Linked DNA regions of Homo sapiens: region 1 is linked to region 2. The links are contacts of gene promoters, found by promoter capture Hi-C in human tissues and cell types (Jung and others, 2019). All regions are on one chromosome and are shown on one strand. The core of a region is centred on a gene start or on the middle of the fragment in contact, and the rest is flanking DNA. Distances in the headings are between cores, read along the strand shown. Region 1 holds the start of ZNF665 (zinc finger protein 665). Region 2 overlaps ZNF808 (zinc finger protein 808).

Evidence for each region. Contacts are between HindIII fragments. The study calls those that stand out against the background at their distance.
Region 1: a contact is called between the fragment with the promoter of ZNF665 here and a fragment that was not itself captured in region 2, in 1 of the 25 tissues and cell types used here (IMR-90 fibroblasts).

Annotation. Positions count from the first base shown.
Region 1 is chr19:53,189,754-53,196,993 of GRCh38, reverse strand. ZNF665 (zinc finger protein 665) reads left to right here and starts at 3,636. Exons shown (of 4, transcript NM_024733.5): 1 at 3,636-3,682. RefSeq lists an enhancer at 3,671-3,820. The HindIII fragment of the contact is 23,654 bases long and covers 1-7,240 here.
Region 2 is chr19:52,531,890-52,539,079 of GRCh38, reverse strand. It overlaps ZNF808 (zinc finger protein 808), which reads right to left. Exons shown (of 5, transcript NM_001039886.4): 2 at 6,071-6,172. Among named protein-coding and RNA genes, the nearest start is that of ZNF808, 7.8 kb to the right of the region's middle. RefSeq lists enhancers at 2,560-2,689, 2,426-3,012, 2,820-3,049. The HindIII fragment of the contact is 7,454 bases long and covers 1-5,713 here.

The DNA of each region.
Region 1 (7,240 bases), core at 2,387-4,886, 660 kb before region 2:
CCTAGGGGCGGGGCCTAGGCGGGGCGTGACCGGCACAGGGAGTGGGCTGGGGAGAAAACGCGAAGGGTGGGGCGGGGCCTGGACAGGCAGGGGGCGGGGCCGGGAGGGACCTAAGGAAGGCGGGTGGGAGCCTGCGTTTCCAGCCACCTGGTACCCAGAGCGTCCCTATTTTCTGGGTTTGGGAACACAAGTCTATTTCGTGTCCTGCGGAGCAGTTTTGCTTTCTGCTTATTTTAAGTTAATGTCTCAATTTTAAGGTAAACCCTTAGAGTTATGTGGGCCATCTCTGTTGGAAAGTAAGATGTTTTCCTAAGTTGCAAACTTAAGTTGCTCAACTATTTTTAAAAAGTTACTGCTTTTTCTAAAGCAAGAGTTAATATCACCGGTATTAGCCCTCCTCGCTCCACACCCCAGGTATTTACCATATGAAAATCTCTGCAACTGTGCACAGGGCTGACTCTCTCCCTCCATGGTGAATGGGTGTAGAATGTGGAGGGGATTGCATTAAGTTCTGTTGAGAGGTGACTTGAAATTACTTACACATTCTGCCCAGGCAGAGTTTTGCATTTCACATTCTAGTTTGCATACCCTTCACAGACATTTTCAGGGCTTTTTAGTTAAGTTGCTTAAATTAATTCAAATTGCAGAAACTTTCCTGGATTCAATCTACCCCAAACCGACACCCCCAGAGATGCCAGATCCCCACCCAGAGTTGCTTCAGTCTCACTAGCAGCTCTTCTGTCCTACCTGCTGGCAGTAATAACCATTTCAACGTGAACCATTTCAACTTCTGTCCCATTCGCTGGCAAAAATACCTTTTAACGTATTTTAACGTATTAACGTATAAGTTTAACCATTTCAACTTTCTTTTGCCCAAGATTCCTATTCCCATGGTCAGGTTGGGATCTACCCTCAATAATAACTACGGTGGCCCAGGGCGTTGTAATCTGTGTGCAGCATTGAGCACCAAGGCTCTGTGTTCTGCGTTTCTGATTACATTTTTCAGCTCTAAAATTTCTCTGTTTTTCCTTTATAGCTTCTGTCTCTCTATTGATAGTCTCATTTTGCTCATATCTTGTTTTCCTGATTTCCTGTGGTTGTCTATGTGTGCTCTCCTCTTAATTCATTGACCATCTTGTGACTCTTATTTTCAATTCTTTGTCTGATAATTCACACATCTTCATTTCTTTAGTGTCAGTTTGTGGTGGTTTCATTTGTTCCTTTGTGTGGATCATGTTTCCTTTTCTCCTTGAATGTCTTGTTATCTTGGCACCTCAGCATTTCACTAATCAACCAGTCCTACTTTTTTATTTCTGGCTTCCTTCAGGGAGGACCTTCTCTATTCAGCCTGACTAGAGATTCTGGAAACCTCTGAAGCCTTTTCTGGGAATGTGTCGTCTCTGGGCTTTTGCTTGTAGTTACCTGAGAAGGTTTGCCAGTTTTTCTTCAGGAGAGCTCCTGTTGACAGTCTGCAATTCTGCAGTCCCTGTGTTTTCATGGTAAGCTGTGGTCTGGTTCTCCACCTAGTGTCTGCCTGCGTTACTGCAGACTCTCGTTTATGTTGCTTGCCTTTGTTCTCAATGGTTTCCCTGACCTGGCATCCTGTCACTTTTGATGGTACTTCTGTTACTTAACTGATTCTTTAGGTTTAATTGTAATTGTTGAGGGGTTTTTTGTTTTTGTTTTGTCTTTATTTTGTTGAGATGGGGTTTCACTATATTGCCCAGGCTGGTCTTGAACTCCTGGGCTCAAGCACCCCTCCTGCCTCAGGCTCTCAAAGTGCTGGGATTACAGGTGTGAGCCACTGCTCTCAGCCTAACTGTAATTCTTAGATGCCTGGGTTCGGGGCTTGCTCTGTCATTTCTAGCTCTTGGACCTTAGGCCAGTTTCTTAGCGTATCTGTGACAGTTTCTTTCTTTTTCTTTTTTTTGAGACGGAGTCTTGCTCTCGCCCAGGCTGGAGTGCAGGGGCGCCATCTCGGCTCACTGCAAGCTCCGCCTCCCGGGTTCACGCCATTCTCCTGCCTCAGCCTCCCGAGTAGAGTAGCTGGGACTACAGGCGCCCGCCACCACGCCCGGCTAATTTTTTTGTATTATCATTAGAGACGGGGTTTCACCGTGTTAGCCAGGATGGTCTCCTGGTGACCATCGTGATCCGCCCGGCTCGTGATCCGGTCCTGACCTCGTGATCCGCCCAGCTCGGCCTCCCAAAGTGCTGGGATTACAGGCGTGAGCCACAGCGCCCGGCCGACACAGTTGTTTCCTAGTAAGATAGGAAAAGATCTTTTTCTCATGGGCTATTATGTTGTTATTTGAGTTAATACAGGTAAAGTATTCCGAATAATGCCTTGCACATAGTGTTCAGAAAAGTCAGTCATTGCTATTGCCATTATCATCACAGTTTTTACTTCTGGCCAGTGTTTCTGTAAAGCCACTGTGGACCTTGTCACCTCAGAAGACATCATTCGTGCTTTAGCTTATCTAGATACGGAGTATCACTTAGTGTGTTGAAAATAATATCTAACACTTCTATAGAGATCAGCTTGTGTTTGGGTTTTTATTTGTCTATTTATTGTATTGTCCACAAAACTGAAAACTCCACACAGATTTAGAGGCTATTATAACTACTTAGGGAAAAGTACAATAAAACAGAATTAGGGAGACATAACTTGCTCAAAAATGCCTTCACGCTGGGGCGGTGGCTCAGTGAGCCGAGATCATGCCATTGCATTCCAGCCTGGGCGACAAGAGCAAGACTCTTGTCTAAAAAAAAAAAAAAAAAAAAAAAAACAACAACAAACCTCACATATTCGTATTTAAGAATATAGGAAACACTGATTCAGTTTCTTCTACTGTTCTCTCACAACACAGAATGCTACAGTTAGCCCAGAGGTACTGGGTTTTCCCACACACACCAAGCAAGCAATCCTGCCACAGACACCAGGTGCGTGTTCTCTCATTCCGTTCCATTTTGCCGGGACATGGCATCAGATCCCACACGTTGAGGGCTCAGTCCCACAATAGTGCACACATTTCAATGCCAGTCTCAAGCAGAGGTTGTGACTTGTGCTTACAGATCAGATATAAATCCAGGAGTCCCTTGACCCCCTCCTCAGGTTCAACGAATTTGCTAGAGTGGCTCACAAAATACAGGGAAACACTTTACATAGATTTACGTATTATAAAGGATATTACAAAGTTGACAGAAGAACAGCCAGATGGAAGGGATCAGTGAGGTGAGGCATGGGAGAAGGGGCGTTGAGCCTTGGTGCCCTCCCTGGGTGCACCACGCTGCAGGAGCCTCCCAGTGTTCACCTATCCAGAAGCTCCGCTGAATCCTCTCCTTTTGGGTTGTTATGGCGCCTTCATTACATATGCATGATTGCTTATATTACTGGCCATTGGTTAAACTTTTAGATAGCCTAAGTTTTGTTTTTTTTTTTTTTTGGGAGAGACGAAGTCTCACTCTGTCACCCAGGCTGGAGTGCAATGGCGCGATATCGGCTCATTGCAACCTCCGCCTCCAGGGTTCAGGCCCCGCCCCGGCCCCGCCCACCCTATGCTCTCAGTCCCTCCCAACGCCTGGCCTTTCCCCACCGCAACCCGCCCCTTTGCCTACTGCGCGGGCAGTTTCTTGCAAACCCGGAAGCAGATCTCTTGGAGTGAAGGCTGTTAGTCGCCGCGTGAGTTTCCCTCTATCTAGATTAAACCTGCGTTTCGGAGTCCCCTGCTCCTCCGTACCCGATGTCCGGGGGTTCGTATAGCCCTTAAAGTCCCCGCACGGCTCCCTCCATTCCATGTAAATTCAGACTTTGCCGCGAGACTCTGGGGGTCGCATCGCTTTGGGTTAAAATCACACAGGCTGGTCCTGCCCGCGGTCTTTCGGCCTTCAGACCATGCAGACACCTCCTTTCCTGCGCCGTTTCCTGCTTAAAACCCTTTACTGACCTGCGCCCTGTGAAGTCCTCATCTGCGAAGTGGGTGCAGGATTTTACCGTCCCCTAACCTCGCCCTAGTCAGCTACTGGAGCGTTAGCGCCGCAGCCCCAGTCCCGGGGAGGCCGCGCCTCTGCCTGGTCCTGGGATCCTGCATACCCCACCCCTCTCCTAAGGCGCCGTCGCCCCCCACCTCCCTCCTCCTCGTGCCGGGCCCTGCTGCTCCCTAGGCCTCCCCTTCGCAGTCACCGTTTCCCCTGAGCCCGCGTTGGGGAGGTGCCCGGGCCTTGTCCTGTGATACCCGGTGTTCTTGCCTGCCCAGCTCCACCCGCTGGAAAATGTGCTCCTCCAGGATCCAGGTGTCTTACTCCAAACCCTCCCTGTGAATGTGTGGGCCAAGGGGATCAGGAGACAGAGAGGGGGGCTGAGAGAAAAGTAGAAAAACGGAGACAGAGGAAAGAATGAGGGAAACCAGTAAACATGGCAAAGTAGAGGATGGGTCAGGATTTACAAAGAGACAGTAAGGGTGAAAGAAGTCGCTGAGAAAGTAACAGGATGGAGAAACAACTGGAGAAATGTAGAGAAAAGCTCGCTGTCTAGAGAGATGAAGGACAGCAAGGTAGGGAGAGGGGCAGCTCCTCAGACGGAGAGTTAGGGAGAGGAGGGGGTATTTGGAGCCAGGATAGACAGAGCAGCGTGGTGCTGGGACAGCAAGAAGGGGCAGCTGGTGACAAGGAGAGCAGAGGGAGAACCACAGCAGGGGGAGACCTGGGATCTGGGGGTGCCAAAGAGTGGGGACAAGGAAGTGAAACAGGGAAGAGGGGATTTAACAGGGAGAGCAGAGATAAGGGAAGAAAGAGGCAGAAATAGATGGAGATTGGGGACAACCAAAAGACGGGTGAAAGAGGAATAAGAGGTGAAACAAGTTGCAAGAATGGAACAGAACAAGTGGAAGAGAAGGATAGAGGGAAGGAGAAACAGCAGGAGAAGAGAGGGGCTCAAAATGAGGAGCAGAGACCCAGGCTGAAACACAGAAAAGAAACAAGGAGAGAGAAGAAGAGAATGAGAGAGATGTACAGAATGAGGGAGGGAAACACACAGGAAGGAAGAAAGAGGGGGACTATGGCCCAGATGCATGGTGGTTTCATTGGATATGGATAATTACATCGTGATATATTGATTTCTGTATCCATAATCTAACAAATTTTTTTTTTCTTAAGACAGAATCTCACTCTATTTCCCAGACTGGCGTGCAATGGCACGATCTCGACTCACTGTAACTCCGCCTCCTGGGTTCAAGCGATTCTCTTGCCTCAGCCTCCCGAGTAGCTGGGATTACAGGCATGCACCACCACACCTGGCTAACTTTTGTATTTTTAGTAGAGACGGGGTTTCACTATGTTGACCAGGCTGGTCTCGAACTCCTGACCTCAGGTGATCTACCCACCTCAGCGTCCCAAAATGCTGGGATTACAGGCATGAGCCACTGTGCCCAGCCCCTAATAATCTAACAAATTTTATATGTATATATTTTGTTTCTGTTATGGAGATGCTGGTGAGAATCACAAAAGTTTTGTCTATAAGACATGTGCATTTTATAATTCCTGGCATCAGAGGTTAGCTTCTATTTGCAATCTCTGTTCTAAGAGAGCAGTGACTTGACTCATTCAGTTATGGGTCACCCTCTTTCCTTTTCCTAGGATGGGGTAATGTGTAGGCAAGTGTATGAGTGAGGAGGAAAAACCAAAGTGTTTTTCCCACTCTCATAATCAAGTAATGAACGCTCAACAAAGAATGCATCGCCTCTCATCACCAAAACGTGTGGGGTGGGGATTTCTCCTCACCAACACGCAGTTCTTGAACAAACACTACCTGACTGTCCAATAATTTAATTCAATTCGGACACTGTCTACCCAGAGTTAGCATTAGATCCCACTAGTTGAGGGTTCCCTCTTCAGATACCAGCCCCAAGTCCCAGATTCGGAGCTTCGGATCCATTGAGTATAAATTTGGGATTCTCCTCATCCCTTCCTGAGGTGCTATTAATTTGCCAGAGCAGCTCATAGAACTCAGGGAAACATTTTCCTTGGTTTACCCAATTGTTTTTTGTTTGCCGGTCTGTTTTTGAGACGGAGTCTTGCTCTGTCACCCAGGCTGGAGTGCAATGGCACGATCTTGGCTCACTGCAACCTCCGCTTCCTGGGCTCAAGCAATTCTCCTGCCTCAGCCTCCCAAGTAGCTGGGATTACAGGCGTCCGCCACCACACCCAGATAATTTTTGTGTTTTTAGTAGAGAAGGGGGTTCACCATGTTGGCCAGGCTGGTCTTGAACTCCTGATCTCAGGTAATCCACCCACCTTGGCCTCCCAAAGTGCCGGGATTACAGGCATGAGCTACCGCACCCGGCCTACCTAATTGTTATAAAGGATACTACGAAGCATACAGATGAATGGTTTTAGCAAGTTAATTGAATCCAAGGAAGGGGTTAAGAGAATCACGGTATTTATCTGGTGAGAGTGTAGCCAACAGCTACTAGTAGCATGTAGCACACTGAGATCTTCACCTGGGAGAACTGACAGTGTCAGAGTGGAGTGAAATTGTAGGACCCACCACTGGGAGTGCACTGCAGAACTGGTCATTGTGGGAAAAACTGCACACATTTTGGTGACTACAAGTGAAGTATTCTGGGTTGAGTGTGACAATAGTATGAACAGTTTAATTTTTTCCTGTCTCAAACAGTAAAGGGAAGAGCTCTCCAACGGGCCCACCCACCTGTCTTAAGGCCTGCAATCTCAACTCAGGAGGTACTGGGAATGGTCTGTCCCTGCTCCGGGCTGTTGCTGGCTGTGGGCGGCATGCCACCCAGGTGCCAAGGCAAGAGACAGAGAACACGAGCTGTTCCAGTATAATAAAATATAAAACAAGAATAGTTATACCAGATATAGATCTTAGATATGATTATATATGAATATCATTAATCATTAGTTTGTAGCAATTACTTTTTATTCCAATATTATAATAATCCTCGCTCTATAATCATAGCCTAGGAAAAACCAGGCCATACAGAGATAGGAGCTGAGGGGACATAGTGAGGTGTGACCAGAAGACAAGAGTGCGAGCCTTCTGTTATGCCCGGACAGGGCCACCGGAGGGCTCCTTGGTCTAGTGGTGACGCCAGCGTCTGGGAAGATGCCCGTTGCCAGGCGGACCGTGGTCTAGGGGTAGCGTAAGTGTCAAATGAAAACACCCGCTACTTAGCAGACTGGGGAAGGGAGTCTCCCTTTCCCCGGGGGAGTTTAGAGAAGA
Region 2 (7,190 bases), core at 737-3,236:
TTCTTACCCTACTTCTCTCCCCCACTCCCGACCCCAGCCATGAAAAGGGAAGAGGGTGATCCACAACGAATGAGTCAAGTCACTGTCCTCTGGCTGAAGAGGGGTTGCAGAGGGAAGCTGCCTCTGACGCCATCATTATAAAATGAACCACACTTAGACACAGGAGTTTGGCAACTCTCATTCTCATCTGTATAATTTAAACTAATTTTAAATTTGTTACCTTATAAACAGAGAAAACAACATGTCATCACTTCATCATCACATCCAATCAACTCACCACTCATCTGCACCCAGGGTCCCTCTTCGTCTTCATTACTGCTTCCCTCCATCATTCTATGCATAGCCCTTTCTCACTTTCTCTCTCCATCTGTTTCTTTTCTGCATTTCCCCCTGGGCTTCTGCTCATTTTATGCCCCTCTCCTGTTTTGCTCCATTCTTTTTTGGTTTTTTTGAGACAGAGTTTCGCTCTTATTGCCCACGCTGAAGTACAATGGTGCGATCTCAGCTCACCACAACCTCTGCCTCCTGGGTTCAAGTGATTCTCCTGCCTCGGCCTCCTAATCCAAAATTAGCAGGGCATGGTGGCGCATGCCTGTAATCCCAGATACTCAGGGGGTAGTATCGCAGGAGAATCGCTTCAACTCTAAAGGCACAGAGAGTCATTAGCCAAGATTGTGCCATTGCACTCCAGCCTGGGCAACAGGAGTGAAACTCCACCTCAAAAAACTAATAATAATAATAATAATAATTAGTATGTAGGCCGGGCGCGGTGGCTCATCCCTGTAATCCCAGTACTTTGCAAGGCCAAGACGGGGGAACCTTTGAGCCCAGGATTTTGAGACCACCCCGGGAAACATACTGAAACCCTGTTTCTACAAAAAAACAAACAAAGAAAAAAAAAACTACTAGCTGGGCTTGGTGTCTCACACCAGTGGTCTCAGCTACTCAGGAGACTGAGGGAGGATCGCTTGAGCCTAAGAGGTCGAGGCTGCAGTTAGAGTAGATAACGCCATTGTACTCCAGCTGAGCGACAGAGCCAGACCCTATCTCAAAATATTAATTAATTAATTAAAAGTATTATGTAATAACAGCGATTTTTTTTTCCCACCACTTCCTACCCCACCATGGGAAAAGGGAAGAGTGACCCACAATTGAATGTCACTGCCCTCGGTCTGAATAGGGATTCCAAGTGGAAGCTAACCTCTGATACCAATATTTATAGAACATACATGGCTCACAGATAGGACATTTAAAATTCTCAAACTCATCTGTATAATTTAAACAAGTTATTAGATTTTATAGACAGAAGTCAACATGTCACAACTAATCATATCCAATGAACTCACACACTCATCTGTACCCAAAGTCCCCCACCCTTTTTTTTTTTTTTTTGAGACAGGGTCTTGCTCTTTTGACCAGGCTGGAGTACAGTGGCATGATCTCTGCTCACAGCAGCCTGGAGCTCCTGGGCTCAAGTGATCCTCCAGCCTCCGCCTACAGAGTAGCTGAAATTACAGCTGCACACTATCATGCCCCGTTAATTTTTTCTTTCTTTTTGAAAGAGATGGGGTGTCTATTTTGCCTAGGCTGGTCTTGAACTCCTGGACTCAAGCAATCCCTCTGCCTCAGTCTCCTAAAGTGCTGGGATTACAGGCATGAGCCACTGCACCTGGCCCCTCTTTCTTCATTACTGTGCTTCCCTCTCTAATTCTGTACATATCTCTCATTCTCCCCTTCTCTCTCTAGCTCTTGTTTTCTTTTCTTTTTCCCTGGGATTGTGCTCCTCATTTTGTACCCCTCTACTCTCCTGCTATTTATCCCCTTCTTCCCTCTATTACTCCTCTTCCACCTCTTCTGCTCCATCCTCACAACTTATTTAACCGCTTTTTTTTTGAGAAAGAGTTTCACTCTTGTTGCCCAGGCTGGAGTGCAATGGTGCGATCTCGGCTCACCGCAACCTCCGCCTCCCAAGTTCAAGCGATTCTCTGGCCTCAGCCTCCCTAATAGCTGACATTACAGGCATATGCAACCGCGCCCAGCTAGTTTTGTATTTTTAGCAGGGATGGGGTTTCTCCATGTTGGTCAGGCTGGTCTCGAACTCCGGATCTCAGGTGATCCGCCCGCCTAAGCTTCCCAAACTGCTGGGATTACAGGCATGAGCCAAAGCGCCCGGTCCTTATTTAACCTCTTGTTGCTCCTTCTCCCCAATCTTTTGATCGTCCTCAATCTCTACATATTACCGCCTCTTATCTCTGCGTCTCCTCTGCTCTCCCTGTTAAATTCTCTCTTCCCTGTTACGCCCCCCTGTCCCCACTCTCTAGCACCCCAGATCCCCCGGTGTCCTCCCTGCTGTGTTTCTCCCTCTGTTCTCATTGCCACCAGCACCACTCTGCGGGTTTGGGGTAAGACACCCGCATCGCGGAGAAGCGCATTTTCCGGAGGGTGGAGCTGGGCAGGCAAGAATACCCGGTGTCATAGGACAAGCCGCTGGGACCTGCCCTACGCTGGTTCAGGGGAAGCGGTGACTGCGAAGGGAAGAATTGGGGAGCAGCAGGGCCCACCACGAGGGGGGATGTAGGGGGCGACGGCGCCTTAAGACAAGGGTGGCACCTGCAGAATTCCAGGACCAGGCAGAAGACGCAGCCTCCCCAGGACTGGGGACACAGCGCTTCGCTCCAGGGGCCGAAGACGGAGAGGCTGGGAGGCGCCCAGGGCGGGAATCCACCTCGCGGGTCGGGGACTTTAAAAAGAACGGGGTGGGTGGAGTCAGCACAGGGTTTTGACCAGGAAAACTAAGCGACAGGAAGTGTATACACTGCCCTATAGCAGAAAGACCGGGGTTGGGACCAGCCTCCGGACGAGTTCAAACCCAAAAGCAAGCAACTTCCGGACTCTTACGGGGACATCTCAATTTGCTCTGGATGAAGGAAGACAGGCGAGAATTTCCAGGTCCGTGGGGACCCCACTTTCCAGGGACAGACGCGCCAGGGACCTGGGAAGCGCAAACTTAATACAAGGCAGAGCAAAACTCACGCGCCGCGGTACGACCTTCACTCCACGCGATCCGCCTCGGGGTTTGCGCGCCCAGGACTGAAGCCAGGCCTGGGCGGGGCCGGCGAACAGTTTGGCGGGGCCTGGGCGGGGTAGAGGCGGGGCGCGAGGCAGAGAGACCTTGCCCTTTAGAACCGACAGAGGGCGGGGCCGGGGCGGGACCTGTGCATCCCTCCGCCTCGCACCCAGCGCCTGTTTTTTTCGGTGTTTGGAGGTGAGAGCGGCCAGGAAGGCTGAAGCATGATTCAAAAGCCCTGGAATTGTCTGGAACGGGCATGCAAACTAAAATGTGAAATGCAAAGCCCTGCCGGGGCGGAATATACGATTTCATGCTGATGGCCCACAGAACATAACAGAAATCCTCCCCCTTTCTATTCTCCATTCATTCAGGAGGGAGGGTCCACCCTGTGCTCAGCTTCAGAGACTTCCCTAGGGCCTCCGCCTGGGATGCGGGACGGAGTGCTCAGGCCAGGGAGGAGTGAGGTCACCACCTGCTGCCTAAACACAGCAGGGATGCGGGCACGGGGCGGAAGCCTGAGGTCCCAGCTACTCAGGAAGCAGCGGCGGGAGAATCGCTGAACCTGGGGGTCCAGGCCAGCCTGGGTGACAAAGTAACACCCCCTCCCGCAGGGCTCCCTCCCTCGTCTCTCCCTCGCTCTTTTCCTTTTCTCTCTTTTTTTTTTTTTTTTTTTTTTTTTGAGACGGAGTCTCGCTCTGTCACCCAGGCTGGAGTGCAGTGGCACGATTTTGGCTCACTGCAAGCTCCGCCTCCCGGGTTCACGCAATTCTCCTGCCTCAGCCTTTGGAGTAACTGGGACTACAGGCGCCCACCACGACGCTCGGCTAATTTTTTGTATTTTTAGTAGAGATGGGGTTTCACCATGTTAGCCAGGATGGTCTTGATCTCCTGACCTTGTGATCCGCCCACCTCAGCCTCCCAAACTGCTAGGATTACAGATGTGATCCACCCCGCCCAGCCTTTTTTTTTTTAACCCGTTTTTAAATAAAATTTTTCATGGTGTGACATAGAGATCCAATATTATTCTTTTCCATGTAAATATCCAGTTAGTTGTCCCAGCACATTTGTGAAAGAGATCTATTACTTTCTCTTTTTTTACTTTTTTCTTTCCTTTTATTTTTGAGACAGAGTATTTCTCTGTGGCCCATGCTGGGGTGCAGTTGCGAGATCGTGGCTCACTGCAGCCTCTGCCTCCTGGGTTGAAGCTATTCTTCTGCCTCAGCCTTTCGAGTAGCTGGTATTACAAGCGCACACGACCATGCCCAGCTAACTTTCATATTTTTGGTAGAGACGGGGTTTCACCATGTTGGCCAGGCTGGTCTAGAACCCTGACTTCAAGTGATCCGCCAGCCTCGGCCTCCCAAAGTGCTGGGATTACACTCGTGAGTCACCATGCCTGGCCCAGGAAATATTCTTTACTTCACTTTTTAAATGTGAGAAAATATAATTGAAAAACAAAGAGTCTTCCCCCAAATGAGAAATCATCTCCACGACGATAATAGAGAAAGAAAGAAAAACTACTTCATTAATAAATAAGCTTTAGACCAGAATGTGATGGGAAATAGAGGCAAACAGCTAAGAGGTTGAAAAGAGAGAAAGAAACTTCAGTGTTCTATACAACCCATTAAGGACATGTTTTCAAGATAAACAGTAATCAGTCCTCAGGGAAGAGGACTTGAAAAGCCCTTGGTCACACATAGTTCATCCTGGCTCTACTTGGTAATGGAGGTGACCATCTCTGTCAGCTAACAAGCTTCATCCCGAGGGAGGGGGAGAAACCCTAACACTAAGCCTAATACAAAAATTAGCTGGGCATGGTGGCAGGCGCCTGTAATTTCTCTCTATTTTTAGTAGAGACAGGGTTTCACCACGCTAGCCAAGCTGGTTTTGAAATCCTGACCTCAAGTGATCCGGAAGCCTCGGCCTCCCAAAGTGTTGTGATTACAGGCTTGAGCCATGACAGTCAGCCAGGAAAACTCCTAGAAGTTGCACCTGCATTCCACTAGACTCTGGTTGCATGACCACATTCCTCTCAAGGCTCAGAATTATTTAAATGTCCATAGCTTTAAATTGGAATCATTTGATGTTTGAATTACTTAATTTCCTACTGAGACACAGGTACAATCTATCTTGTTGCTTGCCTTTTTTTTTTTTTTTTTTTTTTTTGGAGACGGAGTCTCACTTTGTCACCCAGGCTACAGTGCAGTGGCACAATCTTGGCTCACTGCAACCTCTGCCTCTCAGGTTCAAACAATTTTCCTGAGTAGCTGGGACTACAGGCATGTGCCACCATGCCCGGCTAATTTCTTCGTATTTTTAGTAGAGACAGGGTTTCAACATGTTTGTCAGGCGGTGTCGAACTCCTGACCTCGGGATTGACCCGCCTTGGCCTCCCAAAGTGCTGGGATTACAGGCGTGAGCCACTGCGCGTGGCTGTTGTTTGCCTTTCAAGGAGCTCCCAAGTTCTTCAGAAATACATCCCTGGGCCGGGCGCAGTGGCTCACACCTGTAATCCCAGTACTTTGGAAGGCCAAGGCTGGAGAATCATCTGATATCAGAAGTTCAAGACCAGCCTGGCCAACATGGTGAAACCCCGTCTCTACAAAACTATAAAAATTAGCCAGGCATTATAGCGGGTGCCTGTAGTCCCAGCTACTCTGGAAGTTGAAGCAGTAGAATCTCATGTACCTGGGAGATGGAAATTGCAGTGAGCCGAGATCGCACCATTTAACTCCAGCCTGGGCAACAAGAGCGAAACTGTGTCTCCGTTGGAAAGGAAAGAAAAGAAAACAACAGAAAAGGAAATAAAAGAAAATTAAACAAAAGAAAAGAAAGAAAACATACTACCTCAGAAAACAGAAAATGCACTTGCAAATTTTCTAATAAATGTCCTAAGAAAAGAGATGAAAGGAAAGAAAATCTCCTTCTTTAATTTCAAAGGAGGAATTATACCTCTCATTTATTGGCTTGTTTGTTTGAGATAGGGTGTAGCTCACTCACCCAGGCTGGAGTGTGGTGGCAAAAACAGGGCTCACTGCAGCCTTCAACTCCCTGGGTCAAGTGACCCTTCCACCTTTTTCATCAAGCATTTGGAAGAGATATCTACAAAATATAAACACCAATACGTTTCCAATTAAGTCCAGAAGGTAAAACATACTGAAATGTGTAAATATGACACAAAAAACAATACTTATTTTGAACTTCCCAAACATGATCTTCAAAGTTTAGGAACACAAAAGGAGTAAGATTCTTTAATAAATACTTAATAAATACTTTACGTGTACTTCAAATCATTTCTATGGAAGCCTATTTCCAATATGACAAAACGCTGACAGGGCACAAACATGTGTAAGCCTAAAGTAAGGAGTATTTTTCCACTGTGACCCTAAAATGTATCACAGTTTGCAAAAAACATATCACTGTCACATCAATGAAAAGTATAGATCCTTCATATTTACACAATATCTACTGTACACAAATAAATCCTAAAAGACCACACAATATATTATATTGGTAAATAATCCACCAGAAGCTTATGTAAGGGTAACCAAAATCAATTGAAATTCTGTATTATCAAATAATCGTAGCACAGAGAAGATAAGAAAAGATTCCAAAAATCAGCCAGGCGTGGTGGCGGTCACCTGTAGTCCCAGCTACTCAGGAGGCAGAGGCACAAGAATCACTTGAACCTGGGAGGCAGAGATTGCAATGAGCCAAGATTGTGCCACTGCACTCCAGCCTGAGTGACAGAGCGAGATTCCATCTCAAAAAAAAAAAAATGTTAATACAACCTTTTTCTGAATACCTGTCATAAAATTACCTAAATCCACGCAGAACAGGCACTTATTGAAATTAACAAGTGCAGTGTGTCAGTTCCATTACATATCATATACTGAAAAGCCATATGTGAAATCTTAAATATTAATCAGTAAACTATTCTAACCCATGATAAAACCAGCAAGCAAATAATAAGTACATTTATACAGCCTGCAGAATTCTAAACAATTCTCTCTCAAGAAAAAAGCCACAACTTCTACTTACCACCAGCACACACTATAAGACTGAAATACATGTTAAGATCACTACCTTCTGATGTATGAGTTCAAGTAAATACACAGCA